Regions from separate parts of the Homo sapiens genome. Here regions 1 and 2 are each linked to region 3. The links are contacts of gene promoters, found by promoter capture Hi-C in blood cells and fetal thymus (Javierre and others, 2016). All regions are on one chromosome and are shown on one strand. Each heading gives the region's core, a stretch centred on a gene start or on the middle of the fragment in contact. The rest is flanking DNA. Distances are from core to core; before and after follow the strand shown. Region 1 has its middle 36 kb from the start of ARHGEF4. Region 2 overlaps LINC02572 (long intergenic non-protein coding RNA 2572). Region 3 holds the start of IMP4 (IMP U3 small nucleolar ribonucleoprotein 4).

The links. Contacts are between HindIII fragments. The CHiCAGO score rates a contact against its expected background, and 5 or more counts as called.
Region 1: a contact is called between a fragment that was not itself captured here and the fragment with the promoter of IMP4 in region 3, in 3 of 17 cell types (non-activated CD4 T cells, naive B cells and total CD8 T cells). The highest score is 8.1, in non-activated CD4 T cells.
Region 2: a contact is called between a fragment that was not itself captured here and the fragment with the promoter of IMP4 in region 3, in 1 of 17 cell types (total B cells). The highest score is 6.5, in total B cells.

What each region holds. Positions count from the first base shown.
Region 1 is chr2:130,798,993-130,802,678 of GRCh38, reverse strand. No RefSeq gene overlaps it. Among named protein-coding and RNA genes, the nearest start is that of ARHGEF4, 36 kb to the left of the region's middle. The HindIII fragment of the contact is 204 bases long and covers 1,792-1,995 here.
Region 2 is chr2:129,866,179-129,870,125 of GRCh38, reverse strand. It overlaps LINC02572 (long intergenic non-protein coding RNA 2572), which reads left to right. Exons shown (of 6, transcript NR_149127.1): 3 at 591-699; 4 at 3,872-3,947. Among named protein-coding and RNA genes, the nearest start is that of LINC02572, 9.3 kb to the left of the region's middle. The HindIII fragment of the contact is 995 bases long and covers 1,000-1,994 here.
Region 3 is chr2:130,341,399-130,345,087 of GRCh38, reverse strand. IMP4 (IMP U3 small nucleolar ribonucleoprotein 4) reads right to left here and starts at 2,191. Exons shown (of 9, transcript NM_033416.3): 1 at 2,153-2,191; 2 at 1,894-2,002; 3 at 376-459. The coding sequence starts at 2,155. VMA22 (vacuolar ATPase assembly factor VMA22) reads left to right here and starts at 2,924. Exons shown (of 5, transcript NM_032357.4): 1 at 2,924-3,073; 2 at 3,144-3,247; 3 at 3,339-3,421. The coding sequence starts at 2,963. RefSeq lists enhancers at 2,159-2,328, 2,459-3,008. The HindIII fragment of the contact is 8,635 bases long and covers 1-3,258 here.

The DNA of each region.
Region 1 (3,686 bases), core at 644-3,143, 460 kb before region 3:
GGGTAGTGCTGGCCTTGCCAGCTGAAAGCAAACTGCTTCTGGTGAACCTTACAGAAAGACATGGAGAAAAAGGCATTTGTCAGATCAATAGCTGCTTACTGTGTTAATTTGCTGAAGCAGTGAAACCACAGCTGGTACAACAATTGCAATAGGAGTCACCACTTGGTTAAGCTTACAAGAAGCCACTGTCATTGTCTGAGATCTATCTCTCTTTAGCACAGGCCAGATAGGAGGGTTGAATGGGGATGTGGTGGGAATCACCACTCCTGTATCTTTTAAGTCCTTGATGCTGGTGCTAATCTCCGAATCTCTGCAGTCTCTCTAGAATGCAGCAATGCTTTTGGTTTTCTTAGGCAAAGGCAGCTTCAGTGGCTTTCATTTGGATTTGCCTATCAGAAGAGTCCTCAGGGAACCAACATGGTACTCTGCTAGCTACTAAGTACAGCCACGTATCACATAACATTTCGCTCAATGGTGGATAGCATATATGATGGTGGTCCCATAAGATTATAATACCATACTTTTGCTCTACCTTTTCTTTTTTCTTTCCTTTTTTTTTGAGATGGGGTCTCACTCTGTCGCCCAGGCTGGAGTGCAGTGGCGCAATCTTGGCTCACTGCAAACTCTACCTCCTGGGTTCAAGTGATTCCCCTGCTTCAGTCTTCTGAGTAGCTGGGACTACGGGCACCCACCACCCACCACGCCCAGATAATTTTTGTATTTTTAGTAGAGATAGGATTTCACCATATTGGCCAGACTGGTCTCGAACTCCTGATCTCAGGTGATCCACCTGCCTCGGCCTCTCAAAGTGCTGGGATTACAGGCACGAGCCACCGCGCCCGGCCTGCTGTACCTTTTCTATGTTTAGATACACAAATACCATTGTGCTACAGTTGCCTACAGTATTTAGTACAGTAACCTGCTATATAGGTTTATAGCCTAGGAGCAATAGGCTATCCTATATAGCCTAGTATGGAGGAGGCTATACCATCTAGATTTGTGTAAGTATGCTCTATGATGCTTGTACAAAGACTAAATTACCTAATGATGCACTTCTCAGACTGTATCCCCACCGTTCGGTGAGTGACACATGACAGTATGTTCCAATTATGCATTCTGGAACTTAGGAAATAACCGCATAGACTGAGCCTGGGGACCCAATGGGCCCACTGTGAGATGGACCTGAGCTAAAACTCCCTTGACCACCTGACCTCCGTAAGCCCCTGGAGGGCCACAGGGATGCTTCTGGTCTTCTGGAATGAATGTCAGTTCAGAGCCAGTGTCCCAGAGTGCCTGAGAGGTCTGATTATTTTCTTTTTCCTAGTACACAATGACCCTGGTAAAAGGTCAAAGGTCTCTCTAGGGAAGGCTGAGAGAAAGATTAACAGTAGAGGTTTTTGATAGCATACAGGATCCTTTCTGGAGGGGACTGTGCTTCCCCTGCATGGACCATGATGTTCTATTTTCATGATTCAAGTAAGATTTTTGTTAACTCGACCTGGAAGTTTTCTGCTTATACAGATTAAGAATTTAATAGGTATGAAAGTTGATCATAAATGTGTGATTCTTGTCACACCCAATTAAATCTGAGTTGAGGGCCAAGGAGGGAAAAACACTCAGGATTTATAACATCGCTTCAGAAATGCAATTTTCTGCAAGTCCAGCAGCCAAAACTGTCTATTGTAACCTGAGACCAGTTTTGTCTATAGCTTGTGGAATATCTTGCCGCCAATGTAGGGCTCATTGTGTCCACTGCTATCGTTCACCAATCAGCTTGCTAGTCCCAAAGCTTTACTAATACAAATAAACTTTCTCTCAAGACCACGAGCAACATTCCTCTATTCTATAAAATCCCCAACCTGCTCTTTGTTCTTTGGACATACTGAAAAACACCTGGTCTGTGTGTATGACCCAAATTGCAATTCTTATATCCCAAATAAAATGTTATATTTAGAGATTTGTCTCTACCTTTTAATGTTGACTTCAGTACAAGCTTCCTATCTATTTCACTTCTAGGAACGCCATAATCAACTATCCAACATCACATATTCACACAAGTCAGACTATTCTGATTGTTACTTTGTCTCTTCTGTCCATTATGGTAGTCACACCCACCTTGTCTTAGGTGGTTGAGTTCCCCTCTTGGCTCCTCCCACCCTGAGATCAGTTGCTGTCATTGCATTTAATTTTCCAATTGAGTGACTGTGGTTCCCACTGTAAGGTCTGCCCAGAGAGAAAAGCAATGAAACAGCTCTTGAAGGATGCTGGGGCTCCCCTCACAAACCCATTTCTTACAATATTGGTGAAAGGTGTGTCTGGACTAGTGTGGGTAAGTATGTCTAAAATGGCAAATCTACTCTAATTCCAATCTCTTCAATTCCCTTCCTCTACATTAAAACAAGGGATATCTGGCACCTCCAACTTGCTCATTGTAGGCCGCCTTTTAATCTGTTTCCCCTAACCAACTAAACTATTAGGTCTTTTTTACACGCCCAGGGCTGCAGCATTCAGTGCAGAATCTCTGCTTAGTGGGCCCACATCAATACATTTGGCCTGATCCGACTTTATGGTCTTTCCACCATTATCCTGCATGTTTAATGGATCCTTAAGATCCATTTCCACACATTTACTGGATTTCTGCCTGTATGAATTAGAAAACTCAAGTAGTTCTTTTGGATTGTGGCACACCTCCTCCTGGGTCCTGCTATGTCCTCACCTTTGGGGGCCTGCTGGGCCTTGAGTCTAGTTATAGGTCTAGTAAAGACAGGTGGGTCCTAAGGAAACTCAGCATTGTCTTGCATGACAACTGCCTCAGGGGAGGTCTTTATCATTTCCTCCAGCAATGCAGGGTTAATCTCCTCAGGCCAAGGCCAACACCACGAAGGGTGTGAAGGCTGCTTCCCCTGGGGATGGGGAGGCTAGTTTTGCTGTGGATGGGAAGACAACTCCCGTGGGCAAAGAGAATTCATCAGAATTTAGGAGCTCAATGTCTCCCAGTTTCATCAGGATATTCCCATACACCCCCATCCCAATTTACAGGTTGTCATCCTCTCCCAATCAATACCCTCACTTTAATAGTAGACATCCTGGGAGGCTGGGAGTTCAGCTTTTGCTGTAATTCAGCCAGTCACATGGTGAGGACTTGTGTTTGATTTTCAGCAGTTTCAACCCTGTGGCTACAGAGGGTCATCCCTCATGGTGGCCCTGACAGGGCGTGGGGGAGAGAGGCTAGGGCATCTGTGGTCTTCTTTTGGGAGATATGGGGCTCACCCTCTGCACTTTGCCTAAGCTGCATCCCACACTTTCTGGGCAACCTCCTATGTCTCAACTCCTGGCCCTGCTGTGCCCCCAGAAGGCTCCTCTTGACAGGCCACCCTCTTAGGCAGGGTCCTTTTGGGATGACTCACACCTGATACCTTGAGGACCAGCATCACTTGCAACCTTGTCTGTCCACACGGTGCACCTGAAGCGTCTCCACTGCCAGCCCTCTTCCCAGCTTTTCCAGCAACGGATGTCCATAGCCTGCCCTCCTACCCAGGAGTGGTGTCCATCTCTGTCTCAGGGATGCTACTGGTCTGTTTGCTCACAGCAGGGATGGGCCTGCGAGTGCCGGCGCTGAGCAGGCAGCCTGCAGCCCTGAGCCGGCTCCCACTTCAGGGCCATAGAGGGCGGGGAAGGGGGCAGGG
Region 2 (3,947 bases), core at 248-2,747, 470 kb after region 3:
GGGATGCATATGCAGGTGAACAAATGAAACACAGCAAGGAATTGACTATGGTAAAAGTCAAGATGGTGGGCACCATGGGGGTTGAGGCAGGGGTCAGGGAGAGAACCTTGGCTTTGGCAGGCTCTAGGTCTTCACCTCGGTGTGGTTGGGCATGACTTTTACTATTATTGGGTGAATTATAAATATATGTTTTATGCACTTTTCCATGTGTGTCATTTTCATAATTAAAAAGTTTAAGGCCAGGCATGGTGGCTCACGCCTGTAATCCCAGCACTTTGGGAGTCTGAGGTTGGGGGATCACTTGAGGTCAGGAGTTTGAGACTAGCCTGGCCAACAAGGTGAAACCCTGTCTTTACTAAAAATACAAAAATTAGGCGGGCATGGTGACGGGTGCCTGTAATCCCAGCTACTCGGGAGGCTGAGGCAGGAGAATGGCAGGAACGTGGGAAGCAGAGCTTGCAGTGACCGGAGATTGCGCCACTGCACTCCAGCCTGTGTGACAGAGTGAGACTCCATCTCAAAAAAAAAAAAAAAAAAATTTGAATACATTATAAACTCAAGTTATAAACTTGGTATCCTTTGACCTTTAGGGATGACCTTTTTCCTGAAGAAACTGCTGCAGAATGAAAGCTCCAGGCGCTTGGGTGCAGCAAGTAGGCTATGCATTTCCCACCAGCAGGAATCTAGCTCCTGGCCAAGGTGAGCCACGCAGAGCAGCAGCCACGGGTATCATCCTCCCAGGAGGCAGATCCCAATTCGCGGAGAAGACCCGGCCAGCGGGAGGATGCCAGCCTCATCCTCAAGGCTGGGATTGGGACTCTTTCCAGAAGGAACGACCTCTGTGCTTGAGTTGGTTGGGGGGCGCAATGGATTCTTTAACACTGGGGAAATTCATACAGATGAAAGTGAGAGACACATGACAGTGAACTGTAAACATCAGCCAGGTCTTAGAAACGCTGGGGGAGGGACACACAAACCTTGTGAGAAGAAAAATAAGCTTTTGTGGAAGTGAGGTTTGGAGGCCAAGAGTCCTTTAAGCGTCTTAAAGGATCCACTGTGCATCCTTTGTTAGTGGTGGGTGTGCTTCCTCCAACACTAGCCTTTGGTTTACTTTTATGTGCCACTGGATTCTGTTGCTCCAGGGATACCAGGCTCTTTAGAAGCCATTCTAGCAGCTGGTCTCTGCTTGGGAATGTACAAGTGTTGGCTCTGGGACATGTAATCGCCTGTGCCTCCTGATGTGGTTTCCAAGCATCCACTGAGGTTTCTTTCACTTTGGGGGAAAAGATGAGAGGCCCTGTGCTTAAACAATTTGGAAGCAGAAATCCAAACACCAGGGACCTGAGTGCAGCAAGGGCAGGGTCCTGGGAGGGCCTCTCCAGAAACCGCTCTCCTTCTGGAGGGAGGATGGGGTCATCTTTGCTGAGCAGAAGGCAGCGATGGTTTCCTTTTAGATGCTGTGGGTGCCCCTGTCAGCAAGAACCCCAGTTGTGGCCTCAGGGGTGGGGAGGAGAGCTCTTTCAGTGTTGCCTTAGGTGTGTGTCTGTGTGTGTCCTAACCCAGTCCTTCCCACACTCCCCCACGTGCTGATCACGACGAGCACCTCTAAGGCTGGGTCTTTGCATTAGAAAGTTATTTGTTAGGGGTACAGGGGGCAAAGAAGGCACCTGGCACTCATCCTCACCTCCAACTCCCATGCTTGGGCAGGATGTCTTTGTCCCTGAGTGAGGTGACGAGCTTTGCTGGCCCCACAGTCTTACCTGCCTGGTCGGGTGAGCCAAGGGGGACCCTGTCCATGATGTCTGGGCCAAGATGTCCCTGTTGGCGACCCTGGAGGGTCCTCTGTCCTGCTGCTGCTCCTGTGGTCACGTAGGGGGTCTGCTCCTCATGGACCCACCACCCCCGTGTAGTTGTAATGCAAGTGAGGGGTTCTAATTTTGTCAGCTTTATCTTAGTGAAATAAAGGTTAATATCACAGAACCGAAAACAAAGCTTCTGCTCATTACTAGGGAGTTTCAGCTACTCCCTTTCCGCAAAACAATAAATCCAATCTTAACATTTTCAGCTTTCTCATGATTCTCACTCTCCCTTCTCAGGTGAGATAATCCTAACAATATTCTTGGAGAAATTCTATGTGTATGTGTGTGTGTGTGCGTGCATGCATGTGTGTGTAACTTTTTCCTTTGCCAGCGGGAATTAAACTTACTTGGTGAAAGAGACAGCAAGAAAACAAAAGGCAGTATTTAACATTTTAGGTGAAACAGTGGGGGTTTTAGACACGACAATGGTGATTACAGTTGATGGATAAATAGATAGCACTTTATGATCAATTACTCTGAGTATTTTAGAATATATGAATTGCCTTAGAGATATGTGCTCATGTGTATGTGTGTGTGTGTTTGTAGGTGAGTGTGTGTCAGATGTGTGTGCACATGTATGTGTATGGTTGTGTAGCCATGTGTGTATCAGCATTGGAACTGAATGACTAATATGCCAATCTGTCTTAGGTATGTTCTTTCCTTCTTCTATTATGGGCTGATTAATTAAAAACTAACCTGGTGGGCAGGTGTGGTGGCTCACGCCTGTAATCCCAGCACTTTGGGAGGCCAAGGTGAGCAGATCCCCTGAGGTCAGGGGTTCAAGACCAGCCTGGCCAACATGGTAAAGCCCTGTCTCTACTAAAAATACAAAAATTAGCCGGGCGTTGTGGTGGGTGCCTGTAGTCCCAGCTACTTGGGAGGCTAAGGCAGGAGAATTGCTTGAACCCGGGAGGTGGAGGTTGCAGTGAGCAGAGATCATGCCACTGCACTCTAGCCTGGGCAACAGAGTGAGACTCCATCTCAAAAAAAAAAAACAAAAACAAAAACCCAAAAACAAAAAACCTGGCTAGGCCGGGTGCAGTGGCTCACACCTGGAATCCCAGCACTTCGGGAAGCTGAGGCAGGTGGATCACCTGAGCTCAGGAGTTCAAGACTAGCCTAAGCTAGCACCCAGCTAGCCCTGAGAAGTAAATGAGCAGCTTGATAAGCAAGAAGGTAATAGTAGTCTAAAACAACAGGCCAAGGAAGTGGAAGTTAGAGTCAGATACTTGGTTCCCCTATAGAAACTGAACTTAACATCTTGACATACGTTCCTGAGTTGTTTTTCAGAAACCCAGACCCCCACCGAACTGATCTGTGGCACATAGACCTCTGATAAGGGGGAACTGAAGACTGAATTCTGGACTACCATCCTTTGTTCTAAATTTCTTCTTGAAGGGCCTGGAGGGAGTCACACATGTGAGCCAGAGCTAACATTCTTTCCTGATGGACCCTAAATTTATAAACAAAGCTTCTTTTCATTAACTAATTGCAAATCAGAAAATCTTTTAATCTACCTATGACCTGTAGGCCCCATCTCTACAAAAAAACAAAAAAACAAAAAAGAAGAAAGAAAAAATTAGCCAGGTGTGATAGTGCATAGCTGTAGTTGCTTGGAAGGCTTAGGTGGGAGGATAGCTTGGAAGGCTTAGGTGGGAGGATCGCTTGAGCCCAGGAGGCGGAGGTTGCAGTTAGCTGAGATTGTGTCACCATACTCTAGCCTGGGTGGAGTAGAGACTATGTCTCAAAACGCAAATGAACAAAAAACTAACCTGGCTCTAAAAATTCAATTTTTCTCTCAGTGAAAATTTTGGGATTGTGCTTCTGCATCTTTTAAGTGTGTAAGATTTTTGCTAGCTTCACCAGACACAAGAACCTAGGAGCTGCTGTAATAGGGGCTACTATTGGGAACTGGGTATTCATGAAGAGGAGGAGATGCAGTGGTATACTGGGCATTTATTAGCATAAGATAGATGCAATATTTTCTTTTATTTTTCTTTGTTTCCCCCCAGGAAATCATACGTGATGTGTAGGGAAGTGTGTGGGGCAGTGGAAGGAATGTGGACCGTTGCCTCCCTTCGCTTGTCT
Region 3 (3,689 bases), core at 942-3,441:
ACGGTGACAAACTCTTTTCCCTCGTAACAAATATCTATAATGTTTGGGATTCCTTTCTTGTTTCTTGAATAATGCAGTGAATAAACGTATGGGCACCAATAATGTGTGAGGGACACTGTCTTTCCCCAGCAGGCACTCCAGTGGGGGAGGTAATTAACAAGCCAGGTGCAGAGTCAGTGAGGCACTCCCATGTGTGCCATGTAAGTGGGACAGGGCACACTCAGGGAGAGCCCTGCAATGCCATCTGTGCAGTGACAAGGGCATGGGGGACAGTTCCAGGAGCAGTTTCCTCTGATGGGATGGTGCCCGGTGTGTCTGAGGAAGGACTGGAGACCTGCCAGCTCAGTGTTGGGGAGGGCTACCTTGTATAGTTACCTTCACCTCCAGCATCATCAAACTCCAGGGACCCCTGTAAGGCCAGAGCCTCTCGGCGTAACTCAGTGGGAATCAGGCGGTTTTCTGCAGAGGGAAGAGAGAGGGGCTGAGTGAGTCACAAGCATGGAGACCTCAGCTCATCCAATACACCACAGCTTATTAGCCTGCACATGCTTGAAATAAAAATACCTCAGCCCTTTCTGAGCTTGGATAAAGCATGGATAGAGGTGACAAAACTTTCTACAGGCCAACCCCCATAAACAGTGGTTACTAGGACTTCATTTTCTTTAGTCTCATGACTTGAGGACTTTCTAAAATATCTTAATGTACTGTATTGCTTTTATAATCAGGTAGAAATCTAAACATCGATTTTTTTTTTTTTTGAGACGGAGTCTCGCTCTGTCACCCAGGCAGAGCAGTGCAGTGGTGCCATCTCGGCTCACTGCAAGCTCCGCTTCCTGGGTTCACGCCATTCTCCTGCCTCAGGCTGGCGAGTAGCTGGGACTACAGGAGCCCGCCACGGCGCCCGGCTAATTTTTTATATTTTTAGTAGAGACGGGGTTTCACCGTGTTAGCCAGGATGGTCTCGATCTCCTGACCTCGTGATCCACCCGCTTCGGCCTCCCAAAGTGCTGGGATTACAGGCGTGAGCCACAGCGCTCGGCCTTAAAAATTACTTTTGAAAAGAAATATAGACTGTTCTGTACGTATGATGGTGGACCAGAGACCTTTAAGCTCTCAGACAGCAAAACCGTTGGTCACGATGCCCACAGCGCTTCGAAGGCATGGCTTCAGCGGGCCCTGGACCACAGGCTGCCTACCGCAGAGCACAGCGCTCCAGGTGCGCACTCGGGGCCAGCACTGTTCCCCACGGAGCTCAGAGGAACTCCTGCAGGGAGGATGGGCAGCGCAGTCTGCAGCACCAGCGCTATCCAGATAGTCTTTAGAGAGAATTTCTTTTTTTTTTTTTTTTTGAGACGGAGTCTTGCTTTTTTGCCCAGGCTGGAGTGCAGTGGCAGGATCTCGGCTCACTGCAACCTCCGCCTCCCGGGTTCAAGCGATTCTCCTGCCTCAGCCTCCTGAGTAGCTGGGATTACAGGCGCGTGCCACCACGGCCGGCTAATTTTTGTATGTTTAGTAGAGACGAGATTTCACCATGTTGGTCAGGCTCGAACTCCTGACCTCATGATCCGCCCGCCTCGGCCTCCCAAAGTGCTGGGATTACAGCAGTGAGCCACCGCTCTAAAGAGAATTTCTACAGGACAAGATAAAGTCTTTAAAACTTGGGACGAACTTGACACACTGCACACAGCGGGCAAGCTGCAAAACCCGGGTACTGCAACGTCAGTGACAAGTAATTAATACCATCACACGGAAGAAACACTCTCAAAACCAACAGGAGAACCCAATGGGCAAGGAAAACGGCCGGCAAGCATTTGGAAAGACGCTCGGATATTCGAACACAAATGCGTGCCGGGGTGGTTTACCACGCAGACGCCCGCGGGGCCGATGCCTTACCTTCCAGCGCGCGCCGCAGCCGCTCCTTCCTCTCCTGGGCTGAGCGCTGCGCCTCCTCCCGGGCCTTGCGGTACAGGTACTCGCGGCGCAGGCGGGCCTCGCGGCGCAGCTGTGGGAACAGCAGGCCCAGTCACTCACTACTCGCTCCCGAGCCCCGGAACCCCGGAGCCCCGGAGCCGCTGAGCCTCCAAGTCCCCAGAGCCACATCCCCAGCACTTCACGCGCCCCGGACCTCCGAAACAGGAGCTCATTCTCCTACCATCTTGAGTGCCGCTTCCACGTGGGTCCGGGAGAATCTGTGGGCTCCTCCAGCGCGACACAGTCCTCACTTCCGCCCTCAACCAAGATGGTCCCTTAGACGCTTCACTGGTGCCTGCAGCTGTGGGGAATGCCCTATGTTAAGATGGCGAATAGGGCGGGGACATCTCAAGGCGATTGGCCATTCCGGCAGGGCGTTCTCCTTGGGATAACCGATAGACTGGATACAGAATGTCACACGTGACTTAGGACCGCAGCTAATAAATATGTCCGCCCAGGCTTCTCCATCCTCGTCCTCCCCCCACCACCGCCGTGCAGAATGCAGTTTTCAGATGACGAACCGCTAAAACAATCATAATTAGCGGCTGGAAACAGTTCAACTGTAAAAACCGCACACCGACTGAAGGTTGCTTGCCGGCTCCTTTCCAAATTAACTTTAAAACCACTCTTCCCTCAACCAAAATGGTTTCTGTAGAGCTTCGCCTTCTTCCATCGCCACAACAGTGGCGCGACTTCTAAGATTCGGCAGCTTCCGGAAGGACTCAGAACCACCTATAACCCTAGCCGACAGTTCAGCAGGCTGATCCACTTGGGGGCTAATTGGAGAAACCAGTTGATTGGTTGCTTCCGTGCTGCTTCTCTAAGGGCGCTTGCCCTTAAAGAAGCTGACCCAGAGGCCTTGGTGCTGCCGGCGTGGGGATCCCCAGATGGGAACGCCCCTTGATGGAGGATCTCGTGTGCCTATTGGCTGTCCTGCCAAACTGCGGAGGGTGACAAGGAAGAAGGTGGCTCCAGATCTGGAGGTGTGTCCATGGCGGCGCTTGACCTGCGAGCGGAGCTGGATTCGCTGGTCCTGCAGCTGCTTGGGGACCTGGAGGAGCTGGAGGGGAAACGAACGGTGTTGAACGCCCGGGTGGAGGAGGTAGGCGCCTGGGGCGGGCAGGAGGGTACACGGGCGTAAACTGAGTCTCACCGCTTTCCTCTCCCTGCAGGGCTGGCTCTCGCTCGCCAAGGCTCGCTACGCGATGGGCGCCAAGTCGGTAGGGCCCCTGCAGTATGCTTCCCACATGGAGCCCCAGGTCTGCCTCCACGCCAGGTGAGGAAGCTTCCATGCTGGGCTGGGTGGGCGGGCGGGCGCGTTCTAGGCCCGGGCTGCCAAAGCTCCATCCTCCCTTCTCGTCCTTCAGCGAGGCCCAGGAGGGACTCCAGAAGTTCAAGGTGGTGAGAGCTGGTGTCCACGCCCCAGAGGAGGTGGGGCCTCGCGAAGCAGGTGAGCCCCCTCTTCCTTCTGCAGAACCCCTTCCCAGTGTCAAAGACAAAATGCAAATTATGGAGATGATTTAAATTAGGTTTTTGCGATAAGAGAGAGCATCCCAGAGCAGAAGAACAGAATGTTTTTGTAGGGTGGTTTTGCCTTAGACTTTTATAGGAAGTAGAGAAATTGTTGGTGAGTTGCTTTACACTGGGAATAGATTTACAATCACATACATTTCAGTCAGCTGAACAGAAAATATTTATCTGTGTGTCTAGCTAGTTTC